4 separate regions of the Homo sapiens genome follow, and all the other regions are linked to region 4. The links are contacts of gene promoters, found by promoter capture Hi-C in blood cells and fetal thymus (Javierre and others, 2016). All regions are on one chromosome and are shown on one strand. The core of a region is centred on a gene start or on the middle of the fragment in contact, and the rest is flanking DNA. Distances in the headings are between cores, read along the strand shown.

What was found. Contacts are between HindIII fragments. The CHiCAGO score rates a contact against its expected background, and 5 or more counts as called.
Region 1: a contact is called between a fragment that was not itself captured here and the fragment with the promoter of ITGA6 in region 4, in 1 of 17 cell types (non-activated CD4 T cells). The highest score is 5.3, in non-activated CD4 T cells.
Region 2: a contact is called between a fragment that was not itself captured here and the fragment with the promoter of ITGA6 in region 4, in 1 of 17 cell types (naive CD4 T cells). The highest score is 5.5, in naive CD4 T cells.
Region 3: a fragment that was not itself captured here is called in contact with the fragment with the promoter of ITGA6 in region 4 in 5 of 17 cell types (total CD8 T cells, activated CD4 T cells, naive CD8 T cells and 2 more); the score reaches 8.1 in total CD8 T cells.

What each region holds. Positions count from the first base shown.
Region 1 is chr2:171,807,774-171,810,979 of GRCh38, reverse strand. SLC25A12 (solute carrier family 25 member 12) reads left to right here. Exons shown (of 18, transcript NM_003705.5): 12 at 704-756; 13 at 1,294-1,374. Among named protein-coding and RNA genes, the nearest start is that of SLC25A12, 85 kb to the left of the region's middle. The HindIII fragment of the contact is 3,320 bases long and covers 59-3,206 here.
Region 2 is chr2:171,749,040-171,752,442 of GRCh38, reverse strand. It overlaps DYNC1I2 (dynein cytoplasmic 1 intermediate chain 2), which reads right to left. Exons shown (of 18, transcript NM_001378.3): 18 at 2,285-3,403. Among named protein-coding and RNA genes, the nearest start is that of DYNC1I2, 63 kb to the right of the region's middle. The HindIII fragment of the contact is 1,842 bases long and covers 405-2,246 here.
Region 3 is chr2:171,709,994-171,713,016 of GRCh38, reverse strand. DYNC1I2 (dynein cytoplasmic 1 intermediate chain 2) reads right to left here. Exons shown (of 18, transcript NM_001378.3): 6 at 191-250. Among named protein-coding and RNA genes, the nearest start is that of DYNC1I2, 24 kb to the right of the region's middle. The HindIII fragment of the contact is 247 bases long and covers 1,436-1,682 here.
Region 4 is chr2:172,426,095-172,429,420 of GRCh38, reverse strand. It overlaps ITGA6 (integrin subunit alpha 6), which reads right to left and starts at 1,835. Exons shown (of 26, transcript NM_000210.4): 1 at 1,451-1,835. The coding sequence starts at 1,632. RefSeq lists an enhancer at 523-1,023 and a silencer at 1,808-1,887. The HindIII fragment of the contact is 11,901 bases long and covers 1-3,326 here.

The sequences.
Region 1 (3,206 bases), core at 469-2,968, 620 kb after region 4:
TTTCTAAGGATTATGATTTCCTTTGTTTTGAGGGGATTCTTTTAAAATGTCTTAAGCTTGACATATATTAGTCAATAAGAATACAACAGGCATATGTTTTTGCTTATAGGAGATACTCGTTAAACAATACTTAAAACTGCATTTTTCTTTGCAGTTTTGGCTTCCTTTTAAATAAATGAATATTGAATGCTGTGTTTCTCTGAAGAGAAGATTATGGGAGTTAGTATTCTATAATAACGAAGCCACTGTATGCCATTATGTAGGTAGCAAAATCTGGGTATGCTTAACAGCATGCTTTTCAGAGCTTTTCCAAGTGTACAGTATCTGTGTATGTTTATATGTTGTTGGTTGTAATAAGGGAGGGAATTTGGTTACATTGTTATTGGCAGTGTTCCCAGAATAGAGAAGACGCATGGCTCCGTTTCTTCTTCATGGACTTTTTGGGAAGTGTTGGATAACTAGGCTTTAAAGTAAGCATGCTTAAGAAGAGGATTTATAGCCTCAAGAAAACGTGACATTATACTGCATTTGTAAATAATTATTACATATGTATACAGAGTTTTAAGGATAATCTTTTTCCCATTTTAATGAAAACTCTGCAATGTTTGATGGGTAAATAATATGGGGGAAACTCTTTGTTGCTGGGCTTGTGTATTCATGTCTGGTACAGCTATATTGCTGATGATTCTGTCCCTTTACCTAGGTCTGATACCACAACTTATAGGGGTTGCTCCAGAAAAGGCCATTAAACTGACTGTAAGTTTATCTCTAACTGAATTTATGTCATTTGTTTAGATTACCATTAAGCCAAAAAGCTAAAATCAAGGCTAGGCGTGGTAGCTCATGCCTATAATCTCAGCATTTTGGGTGGTGGGAGGATCACTTGAGACCAGTTCTAAACCAGCATAAGCATAGTAAGAACTCAGCTCTACCAAAACAACAACAACAACAACAAAATTAAAAATTAGCCAAGTGTGGTGATTTATGCCAGGAGGCTGATGTGGGAGGATTGCTTGAGTCCAGGAATTTGAGGCTGTAGTGAGCTATGATCATGCCACTGCACTCCAGCCTGAGCAACAGAGTGAGACCCTGTCTCAAAAACAAAACTAAAATTGATGCTGCTGACACTGGCACACTGTCGCAGAATTTGTACAACTTTAATTTTACATGTAAGCATTTGATAATTTTAAATTTTATCATAAGACAAATATTTTGCTGACTTGGAAAAGCAACAGTATGCCAGAAGAGAAATGGTTGGGAATTTTGGTTAACTGATGTTGTCTTTCTAATTAGGTTAATGATTTTGTTCGGGACAAATTTACCAGAAGAGATGGCTCTGTTCCACTTCCAGCAGAAGTTCTTGCTGGAGGCTGTGTAAGTATTACTGTTAGGCGCTTCTTGTGACAAATACATTCCGTTGACCTTTTTGCACAGATATAATAGATATCTTAGTGGCATTTCTCTTGAACTCAAGGGATTCTAAGCAGGTTTTCTCAATAATCATATGGAATAAGTTTTAAATTTTATTGTAAAAGCTAACGGGTTTTGAGTGTAGAAAAGAGGTAGCATTTTCCGCCAGTTAGAATGGTGATCATTAAAAAGTCAGGAAACAACAGATGCTGGAGAGGATGTGGAGAAATAGGAACCATTTTACACTGTTGGTGGGAGTGTGAATTAGTTCAACCATTGTGGAAGACAGTGTGGCAATTCCTCAAGGATCTAGAACTAGAAATACCATTTGACCCAGCAATCCCATTACTGAGTATATACCCAAAGGATTATAAATCATTCTACTATAAAGACACATGCACACATATGTTTATTGTGGCACTATTCACAATAGCAAAGACTTGGAACCAACCCAAATGCCCATCAGTGACAGACTGGATTAAGAAAATTTGGCACATATACACCATGGAATAATATGCAGCCATAAAAAAGGATGAGTTCCTGTCCTTTGCAGGGACATGGATGAAGCTGCAAACCATCATTCTCAGCAAACTGTCACAAGGACAGAAAACCAAACACCACATGTTCTCACTCATAGGTGGGAATTGAACAATGAGAACACCTGGACACAGGGCAGGGAGCATCACACACTGGGGCCTGTCATGGGGTTGGGGGTTGGGGGTTGGGGGAGAGATAGCAGTAGGAGAAATACCTAATGTAAATGATGAGTTGATGGGTGCAGCAAACCAACATGGCACATGTATACCTATGTATCAAACCTGCACATTGTGCACATGTACCCTAAAACTTAAAGTATAATAACAAAAAAAGAGGTGGCATTTTCATCAGCTCTATCTCTTTGATGCTCCTAAAGCATTACCTTCCAGACTTTTTTAAAAGTTCTAATTCCTATGCCTTTTAAGAAATAGAGTACAGAAAATATAGTAGTGGATAGAGTTACCATTCATATATGTTAACTGGAACTTTAAAACAAGTGTGAGATGGCTGATTAATTGGGCCCTTATATCTTAGGTATAGGACTGAGTAAGCCATTGTTTAATAATAATTTTTCTTCTTTAGAGGCCAGAGGGTATGGCAAACAATAATAACGGTAACTACATTTCAGCTATTGACAGAAATTCTGAACCAAGAGACTCAGATATTTACTTAGCGCACAAAGGTTTCTGTCTTTAAAGTGTAAGCATGACATGATTATTGGCAAACAATAATAACGGTAACTACATTTCAGCTATTGACAGAAATTCTGAACCAAGAGACTCAGATATTTACTTAGCGCACAAAGGTTTCTGTCTTTAAAGTGTAAGCATGACCAATTCTTAAATCTATTTGCAGCTCAACTAATTTCATTTGTGGTATTTGTTTCATATTTGATAACACATGGTTCGTTTCAGACTTGTTTAGTCCATTTTGTTCTTGGAAACATTAATAACTTCCAGTTGAATTGGCTGACAGTCTTGGCTAAAACTTCCTCAGTTGCTTGTGAAACCTGAAGTGATGAGGTCAGTGACCTTGGCAACATTTAATTCAGAGACACTGCCTCGGGGGTCAGAGAGAGAGAGAGGTTGCTCCAGATTCTCTTTGATATGTGTCAGTGTGGCACATACCTGAGTCCTCTGCAGAGTTGCTTTGGAAGAGGTGGACTGCTGTGTGGGTGTGTGTGTGCCTGTATGCATGCCCCAGCACATTCTCAGGAAGGAAATCTCTTTGGCTACATTTCTTTTTTAATGAAGAGTTAA
Region 2 (3,403 bases), core at 76-2,575, 680 kb after region 4:
TGTCCTAGGTTACACTACTAGAAATGGGGGAAATCAGGAATAGAACTTGGGTCTTTTGTACCCAGTGTTGTTTCCCTCATATACCAAGCCACTCTTAAATATAAGAAATTTTGTTTCAATGCATTTCCATTACCTTGTTCAGGAAAAAAAAAAATCTAGTAAAAAAATTCACAAAAGATAAAATTACTTGCTATCAAAGTCTTACCACTGGTATACCTGATTTCAGGAGTCACAGTGTCAGATCTCTGCATGTTCGGCCCAACGCAGGTGTGTTCTACATCCATACAATCACCGCCCCACAGCTTTCTGACCAAATCAAGTACATTATAAGAGAGGCAAGATAATACATTACCAGAGACCTGAATAAGCGACCTCACAAAGTGAAACAGACCTTTCAGAAAGCTTACCTGAGTGCAAGCTGTTCCATCCTCTGACTGGGAACTGGTAATGGAATATTAAGAAGCCAAAACTGGGATTCCTGCTATGAAACTAACAACACAAAATACCATAATTTTATAAAAGTTTGTAAAAGACTGCTGATTGGCTATGTGGAAACTATCAGTGGCTAAAAGCTACATACTGAAAACTTAAATTCCTGCTATCCATTTGAACTTTTAGAAGTTTGGGAATTGTGAACATGGCAGGCAGAAAGACAATCTAAATACCTAAAGTCCAACAAAAGGAATGAGAGAACTGGCCTATTGTGAAAAGCATTCCAGTGTGATGGATTCCAAGTTTTATAGTTGGTATTCTGGTTATCAGTGTAGGATTTTTCTCTAAGATGGACTCCATAACATGTTTCCTATTTATGAAAAAGGATTTACAAAATATAATACAATACAAGCAAATTACTACCATTTGGGGGCTGTAAAACTTTTGAAAAAACTGGTTAAAAGAAGGTTCCTAATTGTAATCTTCCCCTTCAAAAGAAATACTGAAAATGGCTGTTCTCTTAATACTGCCTTTGGGGCAATTTCTAATTCTCTGACAGCATTAGGAACCCCTAGATTTGTAAGCCAGATCTCTAAGTAAATAATTTCACAGCATCAATAATTTTTAATTAGTAAATGATAAGTTCCTAGTTGGGAGTGACTTTTCCTCAAACCTGTAAGGTCTCTAAGTTGCCTAGCACAGGGGGCCCCAACCCCTGGGCCGCAAACCAGAACCAGTAGTGGTCCATGGCAGGCTGTATAACAGAAGGTGAGCGGCAGGCAGGCGGGCGGGCAGGCGAATGAGCAATACCACCTGAGCTCCCCGTCCTGTCAGATCAGCAAGTGACGGTATTAGATTCTCAGAGGAGCGCAAACCCTAATAATGTGAACTGCACATGTGAGGGATCTAGGTTGTGTGTGCTCCTTCCTTATGAGAATCTAATAATGTCTGATGATGATCTGAGGTGGAACAGTTTGATCCTGAAACCATCTCCCCAACCTCCCTGGTCCGTGGAAAAATTGTCTGCCATGAAACAAACAGATGATGGCTGGTGCCAAAAAGGTTGGGGACTGCTGGGCTAGCAATCAGCAAGATGGTAGCCTAAGGAAAGCAAGATCTCCTTTCTTGTTGCTGTGTAGCTTGGATTAAAAACAAAACTCAATGGGAACCCCATTACTAAGTCATCAAGAAGTAAAGCTGTTGGCTTTTTAACCTTGGCTTATCCTGAAGACTAAGACATGACACCAGCATCCTAGATGATAAGCAGCATCTGGAGCTGCATTTGGAGCTCCATTCTCTTTAGCATACATTTAATTATACAGCTTTCTCATTTAGAAAACTATTAGAATGTCAATGTTGAAATACTGGGGTTGTGGAAAAGACATTTAAAAATACACCGCCCAGTGAGTGGCAGGTGACCACTGAAATTTATGGCAGCGCTTTAGGGAAAAACAAACAAACAAAAAAACCTACTGGCTTTCTGACTTAAAAGTAATGCACTACTCAATATAAAGCAAAGATAGTATGATATGCTTCACAGCAGATTTTCACTCATCCATTCAAGTCTTTCTGTATGGTTCAAGGGGTGGATATTAGTCTATCCACACTAGTACAGAACAGACTAAAACATTTTAACAACACTGAAAGACTAGGACCAATCATTCCTAAAACGACTTTCCTATAGTTCCTCCCACTAAATTTTAAGTCATCCATTCCTTTGAGATGCAGTATTTCAGCATTATTGTAACAACATTTTATACAAAGAGATTTTCTAAACTTTATAGGGAGCTGGATCTGTAAACAGGAAGAAAGCTTCTACCAATGCATATTTGGTTTAAATAATACCAAAAAATGATTATTTCAGAGATTTATTGCAAGTTAATTGTCTGTGAAGCTGGATATTCCTTAACATGAAGGTAATAAACTTTAACGTTCCACTCAAAAAGACAAAAACCAAACAACGAAAAATAAGAAATTAACCAGAAAGCTATAGCTTGTTTTCTTACTCAGAAAAAAAGTATAACTGATAAGGTACAATTTCTGTAACTGGATATTTTTCAAAATTATAAGGCTTTTAGTTCTAAAAGTATAAAGAACTGTGATGCACTTCTAGTCAACCTAATCTTGCTAGAAGCTTTATCAACACTGACAGTCTCAATACTTTCTCTTTTGCTATTATATAGTCAACTTTAAAGGTAATTCCTTAAAGTAAATTTGTGTGTTCCTAAAAATATGGACTAAAGTTGAATGGGCAAAGGTATACATCGCATTTTCTGGGGGAGTAGGGGAGAAGTCATTCCCAAAAAGTGAAATATTTAAACAATTTTATTCTTTCTTTCACAACTAAACACACCTTGAGGCTGAGGAACATGTGATTTGCCATATGATTTCCAACCTTTTCTTATCCATTATGTTTTAACACTTGTTTTCCCTACTTTTAGTCATTTTTACAAACTGAAGGTAAAGATACAGTAACTACATGAGTAGTGAGTACATGAATTTTTCTATATAAAGAAAGTGTGACTCTACTAAAATTGAAGTTTTGACTCACAGACACTGCTACAATGAGATAACTTGAGATATTGTCTTTGGTATATAATGGGCAATTATGGGGTATTAATTTATGAAACTGAATATAGAAAAGTAAAGAATTGCCTACTTTTCTATATTCCATTTCACATACTGATACCCCTTAATTGAGTAGAGCTGAAAGAAAATTCAGAAATCATTAAATCAAAACTTAATTCCTACATATAAAGAATGCGGCACAGACTTGGCTAAAATCACACTTCTCATAGATGCTTCAGCAAGAATCAGAGTTTGGGGCCAATAATTCCAGGTCAATTATTCCTTACACTATACACTACTCATTATTTGGAAATTTCTCTCCCAACAAATCTTTGTTACAATTATTAAAAGAAAAATGTTCACATTCTGTTTTCTAATCTCTCTTCCTAGTTCATGTTCTGTT
Region 3 (3,023 bases), core at 310-2,809, 720 kb after region 4:
GGTACATAGAACATCACACAGAATATTCTTTCACTAAAGATACTGGATAAATGAGGTGTCACAGTAAAATATAACTCTTGTCCTTACTACGTGATACAATATTATAAACTTAAGCAAAATAAAATTAGGACAGTTTCACAAAGAATCAAATTCATTATAAAACAGGGAAGGTAAAAAATCTATTCAATACCCCAAATCGGAATCTGAGTGAAGCTGAAGAACTGATGGATCTGTATCCCAATGCAGCGTCCTAAATGGTTGTAGGACAACCATGAAGCATTAGCAAAAAAGGCCATAAGTTAGTCAAGCAAATACATTCTATGAATAGCTAAAGCTAAAGTACTATTCACAATTAAAAAACACATGTTCTGGTTAGTATTAAAAAAAAAAAATCGAAAACAAAACAAGAAATCCACCAGGTCACTCAATCATCTAGTGCATGCAATAGGCTTCCTATGGTTAAAGATGCAAGCATACAACCCAGAATAGTTAAAAGACATTATTTGCAGATTATGGGAAACTAATATTGTATAATAATAGATCTGCTTTAGAACAACTAAAGTCAGACAACCCAAGTTAATTATTTATGGATAACAAGCTAGGCTATAAAATGGTTGAAATTTTAAGATTCCTAATGAAAACAAACACATTAAAACATCTTGGTTAACATATTCTAATCTTCCCCAAAGCATTACATGTGTGCAGGAAATTGTCATACTGGTAAAGGAAATGAGTCAACACATAAGCCTTTTGGTAATAAAACCAAAGACTATCCCACTGGGATACAAAATAGCTAAAGTTTCCAAAATGTGACCCTTCTGTAATTTATGGGTTAAGCACCGCCTTGGGCTTACGTATCATCTGCTTAAAGAAAACAACTAAAGATTTCTGTCTCTAGGAAAAAAATAGATTTTTCCCTGGAAAAATATTTTATGTTCAAATGTCAATCCTAAATATTGAGTTATAAGTTTTAGCATCGCCTGCTGGCTAAGTAACTTACAGAGGATCTTTTCCACTTAAGCCAAACTTAGTTACTAATAGAACAAAAGGTGCTTTATCATACTGGCATTTATATAGGTTAGCAATATATAAGATAATTATGTATGGTACTGTATAATGCTCATAGTCCCCACTAAATAAAGTTAAGCACAATACATTTAGTATTACCATTTTTGTCAAATATATTTTTCACTTATGTAAGACATTATAATTTATAACTAGTTTTAGTTGCTACAATGTTTTAATACAACAAATGGTTTCTCTACCTGCCTATATAATTTATCAAGAAAAATAGTAATGAATTAATCTAGAGAAATCCTTCATTTAAAAAATATAAAGAAAGATCTTGGAATTTAAACAAGGTTATGTGTATGCAATGTAAGAAGCAGCCACAGTGAAGATCTACTTTGTACTAAGCAATGAATAGCAACAAGCTTAGGCTTTGTTAAATCAAAAGTTCTATGAGATGGTCTCCAAGGAATGTTCTGTCATTTACATTATGTAAGAGCTCTGTTATCAATGACATAAAATTCCTTGTTGAGGATGTCATTTTAGTCTAAAATCAAGTAACACTGTACCTCAAAATACAGCCAGTACTGAAAATGCACTGGACATACCTGTACATTATTACATTTATTAGGGGCATCTTCAGGCACATAGAGTACAATTCCAAGTACAAAGCTTGAGAAGTAAACTGATCAAAAATGGAAAAATGGGCCAGGCACGGTGGCTCACACCGGTCATCCTGGCACTTTGGGAGGCCGAGGTGGGCAGATCACTTGAGGTCAGGAGTTCGAGACCAGCCTGGCCAACGCGATGAAACCCCATCTCTACTAAAAATCAAAAAGTAGCTGGAAACCATCATTCTCAGCAAACTATCACAAGGACAAAAAACCAAACACCGCATGTTCTCACTCACAGGTGGGAATTGAACAATGAGAACACTTGGACATAGGAAGGAGAACATCACATACCGGGGCCTGTCGTGGGGTGAGGGGAGGGGGGAGGGATAGCATTAGGAGACATACCTAATGTAAATGATGAGTTAATGAGTGCAGCACACCAACATGGCACAAGTATACATATGTAACAAACCTGCACATTGTGCACATGTACCCTAGAACTTAAAAGCATTAAAAAAAAAAAAAGTAGCTGGGTATGGTGACACACACCTGCAATCCCAGCTACTGGGGAGACTGAGGCAGGAGAGTTGCTTGAACCCAGGAGGCAGAGATTGAAGTGAGCCGAGATCACGCCATTGCACCCCAGCCCGGACAACAGAGCAAGACTCTGACTCAAAAAAGAAAAAAAAAAAAAAGGAAAAAAGGAACAAGAGGCCTGGATTACCCCACTGAATAATTGTTCCTAAATTTTTGAGATAACAAATGTAATGCAGCTTCCTAATCTGCAAAGTTAGAGAGAGATTATTTCTCACGACCTTTTATATTTATTCATAAATTACCACCAGTCCCAAAAGAAATTCTTGGCACTTAGAGTGATTCAAACATGTTTAGACAGCATATTTTATAATGTCTTATCTATTCCTACTCCCTGAGTGTATTAATCTTAGACCATCTTAGCCAACTGAAGTTGCACGTACAGGTGCATGCACACATCTCACATGTCTTCATGTATTTTCCTATTATATTTCTTCTAATTGTCTTTATTCTTACATTAACATCGTGTTTGCTCAATATGAGTTCATTAGGTTTCATTCTGAGACCTGGGCACTCTTTTTAAATGTCACATATTTAGAAATGCATTATTTCACTGCCAATATCACCATCACAATATTAATTACCTCTATGAAAGCTGGATATGATTTAGTAGAATTCATCATTTTCTATTACTCTGTGTGTGTGTGTGTGTGTGTGTGTGTGTGTGTGTGTGTGTGTATATATACATAAAAATGAATATACTCAGCCCTCTTGAAAATTAATGTTTCCAAGTGAGTCTGTGCTCTCAAAGGAGACAACGTACATATTAAGGTTAAAAAGATGTGGCTGGGTGCGGTGGCTCAAGCC
Region 4 (3,326 bases), core at 586-3,085:
ATTTCTGCACTAACAAGCTCAAATTCTACACACCAAGTATTCCGAGACAATAAACGTCATCTATTAACTGAGTTAACAGGAACCTTTCATTTCAGATTTACAGCTTAACAACAATTATTTCTGAGAGAAAGCAGAGTATAAGCAGCTGGCCAGGCATATAGCCTCAGACCACCCTCCTAGAGCCTCCCCACCCCCAGCTAATTTCTGTGCTTCACCTAGCAGGTGTTATCAGAAAAAAAAAAAAACTGACTAAAATTCAGGGGCTGCAACATTCACGAATTCCAAAGTTGTTAACCGCTGAAATCAAGAGGTTTCCTCCAGTTCTAAAATCCCATTCGCCTCTCCTAAACACAAAATCTCTTCACTGTGGCTGCACTTTGCTTTCTCCGGTCTGTTGGTCCTGGAAGGTCCTTAGTTCAACTCAAGGCCTGGGTGGGGAGGGGAGACCTTTTGTTGCTACAGCCTATTTTTCAGTAGCACAGATGAAGAATGCAACCCCATAGCGATTAAGGCGACTAAGCGCCAAAATACCCTCTCCGGCTTAAATAGCCGATCATGTGGGAACCAAACACTGTTTAAGAAATAAAAGGAGAGGCCAGTAGTGCCGGTCTCCTCTTTCTCCTGGGAGGTTTACCGCTACGGTGGGGGGTTGTCCCTTACAAACCTTGTTTGCAAAGTCCAGGCTCAGATCGGACATTTTGCTTTAACCCCTTGGCTGTGCCCGCCCAACGCAGGAGCCGAGCGGGTCTCGGGTGCGGCCGAGTACTTTGGGGGCTGGGCACATCACTCAGACTTGTTTTCTCAGCTGATCTAGTCCAGCGAACAGGTGTTTGGTTAATTCCCGCCCCCACCCCCATCTTTTTTTTTTTTTTTTTCAAAGGCATGTAAAAGTATCTCCTAAGGAGCGCCCCCGCCTTGCTGAGAAAGTCATGCAGGACACATGGAAAGTGGCTTTCCAACTTGTGCGGGGCGCGCCAGTCTGCGGGGGAGACGGGGTGCACCGTGAGTTTGGGAAAGGCCTAGACCATCCTGGAACTACGCTCCCTGCAAACCCACAGCAGCGCTGCGGTGACCCTGAACGCCACCCCAGCCCCAAACACACACGTGAAGCTCAGCAAAGCGTGCCACCTGCCGGGGTCCCAGCAAACACGCCCGGAGGGAAGAACCGGCGGAAAGCACTTTGTTTAAAACAGAAAAAAAAGTAAACTCTCCCGGGGCCCAGCCTAGCCCTCGGGTTCTCCTCCTTCCCGAGCTGAATGGAGGGAGGCGCCGCGCGGGGCGGGTCAGGGCGGGGAGCCGAGCGCGCTGGGCGCTGGGTGCGCCTCGGCCGGCCCGGGCGCGACCCACGGGCCAACTACTCCCCGGGGCCGGCGGGAACAGGGCGCGCCCTCGCCTCAACTCGCGCGCAGGCCGGCGCCCCAGTGGGGGTGGGAAGGGTCTGGGAACTCACAGCCGCTTGTCCTCGGGCTGCAGTTGCCAGTGCATGGCCAGCGAGAAGCCGAAGAGGCTCCCGGGGTCTCCATATTTCCGGATCACGTTGTCCTCCCGAGTGTCCAAGTTGAAGGCTGCGCCGAGCCGGGACAGGAGCCCCGCCGACAGGTAGAGCAAGCACAGCTGCCCGGCGGCGGCCATGGGCGGACGCACGGGGAGGGGAGCGGGGACCTGCAGCGGCCGCCCTGCGCTCCGGGCTGGGTCCGAGGCTGCCGCGCTGCTGCTACCGCAGCCACCTTCGCCTCCTCTCGCCGCTGCGCCCGGCCCCACCCCCGGGACGGGTCGCGCTCTCCGTCCGGCCGCTCCCCCTCGCGGGCAGCTCGCGACCGCTGAATGAGCCCGTTGTTCTCTGGAGACTCGCAGGCGTTTTATCAAGTGACGAGGACGCCGGCCCCGCCCCTCCCCACCCTCTCGCCCCTCCTTGCGCGCCCGCGGCCCGGCGCACCGCCCGCACCTTACCCGCCGGCTCTGGCGTCTCCAGCTGCCCGGTACCTGCCCGGAAGCCACGACGTGGGAGCCCCGGAGGCGAGCTCGCGGCGAAGCAGCCCCACTGCGCCGCCCTCTGTGGACAGAATTGTGGTTGCCGAGTAGCACAGAGCGAGGGAGACTTTACTACCCGTTATAAAGAGAAGTGCAGGTGATGCACCGGGCCTCATGGCCTGAGCAGCCTGTTCTTGCAGATGTGGGCCCACGTGCAGATGCATACGTCATTCATTCATTTCTACAGGTGTTTATGGAGCGCTTAAGGCGTGCCCAACACTTGGGGACTACAGCTGTGTAGACTGTTCTGGGTCCTCAAACACCTAACAACCCTCAAAAATGATCACAGCGCACACCTTGATAGTGCTGTATAATGTACACAACCCAGCCATTACCTCAATTCATCCTAACAGTCCTATGAGGTAGGTGTTTCTTTTTGCAGATCAGAAAACCGAAGTTCCGCCTTGTCCCCAGATCACCTAGGATTTTGCCCAGGTGACCAGGAGAGCTTGTGGAAGAAGTCACGCAAGTCAAGGATGGGTTGTTTAAAGTGGCGCCAGGAGCTCAGGCGACGATGCCGTTCTTTCCTAGCCCCGGACTTTCAGAACTAGTTGTGGGGAGAACTGCTGGGCCAAGAGACAGCTCCGAGTTCTGTGTAGGTGGCATGAAGGCTCCTGCCTCCAGGACATGAGGCGGGGCTCCAGTGAGGTGTTGGCCCTAGGGGCAACCTTATCCTGCAGGGGTTCTTAACCCGAGGAGAGGTAATTAATTCAAGAGTACTGTGAACTTGGATGAGAAAAAATTTACGTCTTAATTTTCACCAACCTCTGACATTTAGCACGTTTTGCCATTATGAACGTAGACAACAAACTACAGTAGCAGTAGGATAAGTATTTATGACTTAGTAATCACTAGAAACCATAGGTTTTTACATCACATCACAGTTGTTGCAAGTATCTCAAATAACAGTAGTTATTAGACAATCAGCCAGATATTATATGTCAATAATGAAGCATATATATTGCTCTAGCACAAATTTTTAAAAACATTTTGTTAGCTACATTTCAATATTATTGGCTTTTTTTGTAACCTCTTGTGGTTTCTTTTATGTATTTAAAACCCTTATTCTGAGAAGAACCCCATGGTTTTCAGCAGCCTGCCAAAGGGGTCCCATGGCATGAAAAGGTTGGGACGTGCTGGCCTGAAGCCTTCTGGAATGCCTTGGGGAGCCCTCTTTGGAATCTGACATCCCTGCATTGGAAATACAAGCAGGGTGCAGCCCCAGGAAAGAGCAGGAGCTGTGTGTGCATAGGGGTAGGGGTGGCCTCTTCTTCACCTCAAGGAGTATTCAAGAG